Linked DNA regions of Homo sapiens: region 1 is linked to region 2. Evidence: promoter capture Hi-C in human tissues and cell types (Jung and others, 2019). All regions are on one chromosome and are shown on one strand. The core of a region is centred on a gene start or on the middle of the fragment in contact, and the rest is flanking DNA. Distances in the headings are between cores, read along the strand shown.

Region 1 (2,960 bases), core at 186-2,685, 150 kb after region 2:
TTTAACATGGTAGGAAATGTAACTGCACCCCTACTGAATCAAATGAGCATCATTATTTGTTCAAATTCCAAAAAAAAAATGTATGATGCTCAGGATTAGACCAGGTCCCTTACTATTGAGGTTTTTATTTAAATTCAATACCCCAGCAAGGTACTTAGTCATGATTAACTTATACTTATTAATTTATACTTACTGAATTCCACATAGGAATAGTAAAAGGTAATAGATAAACTTGGCATCTAGAAGTGCAGAATCAAATAATTTTAAGAGTAATATACCCCTAGAGGGTATTTATAACTTTACAGCAGCCAGGTGACCTTAAATAAGAAGGTCCTTAATTACTGAAATTTGTACATAATGGAGAACTAGTCAACCCCACAGTCATTTCTCTCGTTTATGAAAAAGGCACACTAGGCCAGGCGTCGTGGCTCGCGCCTGTAATCCCAGCACTTTGGGAGGCTGAGGTGGGTGGATCACTTGAGGTCAGGAGTTCAAGACCAGCCTGACCAACATGGCAAAACTCTGTCTTTACTAAAACTACAAAATTAGCCAGGCATGGTGGCAGGTACCTGTAATCCCAGCTTCTTAGGAGGCTGAGGCAGGAGAATCGCCTGAACCCCGGAGGCAGAGGTTGCAGTGAGCCGAGATCGCACCACTGCACTCCAGCCTGGGCAACAAAGCCAGACTGTCTCAAATGAAAAAAAAAAAAAAAAAAAAAAAAAAAAAGGCACACTAACGTCACATAGGGATTAAGTCAACAGCAATCTCCTAGGTGACCAAGAGGCTAAGATACGGGCTGGTATTTCTTACCACTTATAAGTGGGCTGACATAAAGATCAAAATGCACCCTCTAAACTGCCCAAGAACTGGAATGTACTATGCTAGTAGCTGTCTCCCTGGATTATAACTGCACTGAGTCAGTCGGTAGAATGAGGGCCTGCATGTTACCACTGATGGAAACTGAGCCCTATCTACCACCATCAGCAGCCTCCAACTCTGTGGGTTGAAAAACCACTTATCCCTCTAGCCACTGGTCACTCAGGGGGGCTGCACTGTCCAGTCAGATGGTGAAGAAATGGCACTACTACTGTGCTTTCTTTCCTAACCCAAACATGAAGCCAGAAGTCACAAAACCCAGTGTCTGCAAGGCCAGGCAGATAAAGTATGTGCCGTGGGTCAAGTGTAAGAAACACAGCACTCTTGGGCTATCTGTTTCCACTTCCGATAAGGCATGGATACAAAGAAGTATAGCTCTTCTTGTAAGAAGAAACAACAGAAAGCGGGACAATACTTGGCAACCAATGGCTTGCCTTTGAGTTGTGGAGCCACAGGGAGTGATGGGAACAGTGGAAACATAGTCATCACATGGCTATGGCAAATGGGTAATGATTGCTCTTCAGCTACATCCAATTACAGCCACATGGGAATGTGAGCCCACTGTGGCCAGATCTGATTTTTCCAGACAAAGCCAGAAATACAAACTTTTTTGTGTGACATTTAACGATTTTAAATGTTGGCCAAAAAAAAAAAAAAAACCAAACCAAAAACGTCATGAATTTTTTAAAACTACCCTATAGGCAAAATAAAAGCATACGTTAGACTTGGTACATGCTTAAGGAAAGGAAGTCTAAACCCTACTTAACTTCTAAATAGGGCAGTGTAATTGTTCAAATTTTAAGAGACAAGAGGTGGTGCACTCATATATACTGCGGTACCAACAGGATGCCATGTCCTGCCAAGGGCTACAGATGCCCTCTGTTTCTGAAGGTAAACATCTTCTAAGGAATGCCAACTCCCGGTCACTCCAGGCTTTCCTTTCATCTGCTTTGGGACCACTCCAGTTCCCCATGTTGCCTCCCAGGCCTGGCTATTCTTAGCACAGTCACCGTAATTGAAACGCCAAGGTGCTGCCTGTCATGAGACACTAATGGGAATACAAACTCTCATTTATGATGCTGTCGAAAATGCACTATTGGCCTGTGTCGCGGGACGCTGATCTACTCAATCTCCCACAAATACCATGTTGCAGAATTTGTACCATCTGCTCAGCAAATTTCTAGCTCCAGAAACTGTAGTGTATTTTAAAGAAGAAAACAAAGCAAAAGACTAACCAAATCACCCATCTCTGACATCTCTTTCAGTGAAATAACCAATCGGTTTGGAACATTTCTCCACGTAAATCATACAAAAGACCAGATTAAATCCAAATACATCAACTGCTGGAAGGTTGTAAATCAATAAGTCAGTTGATTTGAAGAGTGGAATACTAACTTTGGCAATTTCCCCATAAGAACTCTTTGTCCACATCCAATAATTACGGCTACCCATAATGCTCACAATCTCCAAGTAACAGCCTCCACACCCTTCAGAGCTGGGCAACTTGTGTGTACACGCTACCATCACACTCTGACCACTCACAAAGAATTCACCTTGGTCCCAGTTGATGTAACAGAACACTCTCCTTCAAAAGACTATGGACAGAGAGTCACCATCTGCAGGGCTTCTTTATTAGCCAGAGTGAGAGAGGCACAAAGCAGAGAAACTTGAGATGGAAATAGAAGGAAGATGGGGAATAAGGAGAAACTCTCCTGGAGCATACTCTGTAGAAGACAGCTGCTGATTCATGTAAATACAGGAGGACTTCTAGGTAATGGATGGAAATGTAATAATAACTTGTATTCTTGGGTAGCAGAACAGAGTTCCAAGGGAATGGGAGACAATAACTGCATAAAGTACACTTCCTCAGCCCTGGAGTGGGAGGTTATCTCTGGGCTCCAGGACGCATGGGGTCTTTATTTAGTACTTAGAGAATGAAGATAAGAGGAAAATAGCTTCCCAGGAAGAAGGAAAAAAAAAGGAAGAAAAACATAACTGCTCCTTTATAAGCATCCTAAGGGAGCACTAAGCCAACGTGACCAGTCTGGACACCCCTTCCCTATTCACCAAACACTACTACAGAG
Region 2 (2,700 bases), core at 38-2,537:
AGGGCCATTTTTGTTATTCATGACGTCCCTTTTGACTATGTCTAAGTTTAAGTGAACAGGTAACTTTTGGAAAGTTTCTAAGGATAGCGGCTGGTTGCCAGGAGAATCAGCCATGTTATTCAGTAATCCCCTCCCATCTCTGGGGAGGAAAGAGGGACTGGAGATTTATTTAATCACCAATGACCAATGATATGATCAATCATACCTATGTAATGAAGTCTTCATAAAAACACAAGGGAACAGAGTTTGGAGAGCCTCTGGGTTGCTAAACACATGGAGGGACTGGGTGGATGGCATGCCTGGAGACAGCATGGAAGCGCTTATCTCCTCTAGTTTTTTAACTGCATTCTCTTTACTTGAAACTGTAACATTTGTTTGTATACTCGTTTATTTTTCTCTCAACTCTACTGTGAGTTCCATAAAAGAAGGGACTCTGCCTTGTTCACCCTTGTATCTTAAGTATCTAGCATAGTGTCTGGTATACAGTGGTACTCATGAGATTTTTGTAGAATGAATACATGAATACAGGGCAGAAGATTTAAACTGGGTCCCTAAATGCCAAGGACTCCATTTAAATACTCTACCTGCTCTGCGCTAAAGTTTGCCTTGCTCAGTTAGACTATTAGCAATGGTCTTAACATGAGTCTTTAATTTTACTGGTCAATGAGATTCAAGCATAACTTGGCTATGTCTGAAAACATGGCGGAGTATCTGACAGAGTCCTTCATGTAAGAGGGGCGTGGGGTAAAATCCACATGGGAAAGGATTGAAACTGTCTTCACTGCTCAGATTTGAAGAGATCTGGGTTTGTTTAAGAAGCTGGTGATGTGGTTCATCAGAAAAAGAGAAGGCATTTGACCCCAATCAAAGCCTTAGATTGAAGGAGGAAGTGGAGATTCTGAATAATGACCATGTCCATTTTGACCAGAGCAGAGTGTTCTTTCTGGTCTCATGAACAGGCTCATGATTCACAAAGACTAGCCTACTATTCCCATTCAACCTGTGTGAGGGGAAGAGCAGGAATGATTGCTCCTGAGCACGAGTGATGGGGGTTCCTAGAAATACTCCAAGGTGACTTTACATAGGGAGGAAATTTATTTCAGGATCTGGTGAAGTTGAGAGCTCACGTAAATTTGGTTTTAGAGAAGAAATGAAATATCAAATGGTACAGCATTTCCCACACTGGAAAAGGTGTTTGAGGACATGAGAGAGTTAATAAAGCAATTGCCCGTGACTTTCTGCTGAGACATCCACTAACTGATTTATCTCATCTTGATTGTGGGAGCCACAGTCTTGATGCATTCATTCTCAAGGACACTTGATCCACTGCCAGAGAGGCCCAGAATTTTCTAACTTACTGTGTGGCAGAATGAAGCCTCTGCTTGAAACCCTTTATCTTTTGGGGATGCTGGTTCCTGGAGGGCTGGGATATGATAGGTGAGTGTAAAGTGGGAAGAGGAACTGATTATTATAATTTAGATTGTCTAAATTGAATGGTTTCTTTTTAAGACCAATGCAGCTGGCTTCTCCTTCCTTGCTACTCATATATACCACCATGAGATGAGAATAATAAAGACCACTGAAATTTATCACTGAATAATCATAATCCTCTAATAATCCTTGAATAAATGAATAAATATCTAGCAAACATTTCCTAACACAATGCATGAGATATACAAATAGACATGTCATGTTTTGTGATTGGAAAAAGAAAATTGTAATACAAATTCTATATCCTTCATTTTCATAGTATCTCATTTGGTAAATCACATTATCCTAATTATTAAGAAAAATGTTAAAATGACCAAATAATTTCACCTAGAGATAAGTACTATTAATGTTTTCAGATAGCTACCTGATTATGTATGCAGCACTATTTCTGAAATATTTCACTTAAATTGTATTACAGAAATTTTCCTATGGCATTAGCAATTTATTTAAAACAGTTGAAATTGCTAATAATATTCTGTCATTTAGTCAATTCCTGCTTTTTCATTTTTACAAATAATGCTGTGATGAGCAACCAGCTACATAATTTTTTTTGCTTTTTGCAAATCTTTAATTATTTCTCTAAGAAGTGGAATTACTGGGTCAGTAACTGAGGAAAATGTAAGGATCTTGCTACACATTGCCCAATTACCCTCTAGAAAGATTACATCAGTCTACACTTCCAATAACAGTGTATGAAAGCACTTTTTAAGTGTTTGGCAAATTGACAAGTAAAAAATACACATTGTTGACTTCCTTTGTATTTTGTTGATTTATAAGAGTAAATATTTTATTACTAATTTTATCATTTTATAAATTGCCCATTAATGTCATTTGCCCATTTTTGTGGTCTCTCCCTACTCTTAATGAATCATAAGTTCTCTAAATACATTCTATTGAAATCTGTGTGTGTGTATGTGTGTGTGTATAGTTTCCATATAAAGTGTGTTTTTCCCTTGTTCATATGCAAATCATTATTTTGCTCATTTAGCATATCTCATGAAGTATATGTGGTTATAATTGGTATTTCCTCTTTTGCTTCATGGTTAAAGAAATCTTGCAATGAACTTGCTCTCACATAACATAGAAACCCACTCCAATTTTTGTCCCACAATAATTGTGTGACCTCAGCTTGTTCCTTATCTTCAGTTCAATTTCAGATACTTACAGAGTCCAGGATCTCTGTGATATCAAAAACCTGTTTGAATATTT

What was found. The method cuts DNA at HindIII sites, captures the fragments that hold promoters and counts their contacts. A contact is called where the count stands out against the background at its distance.
Region 1: a contact is called between a fragment that was not itself captured here and the fragment with the promoter of CPO in region 2, in 1 of the 25 tissues and cell types used here (thymus).

The regions. Positions count from the first base shown.
Region 1 is chr2:207,084,468-207,087,427 of GRCh38, forward strand. All of the region lies in intron 3 of KLF7 (KLF transcription factor 7), which reads right to left. Among named protein-coding and RNA genes, the nearest start is that of MIR2355, 24 kb to the right of the region's middle. The HindIII fragment of the contact is 3,891 bases long and covers 1-2,960 here.
Region 2 is chr2:206,938,231-206,940,930 of GRCh38, forward strand. It overlaps CPO (carboxypeptidase O), which reads left to right and starts at 1,288. Exons shown (of 9, transcript NM_173077.3): 1 at 1,288-1,437. The coding sequence starts at 1,370. The HindIII fragment of the contact is 12,088 bases long and covers 1-2,700 here.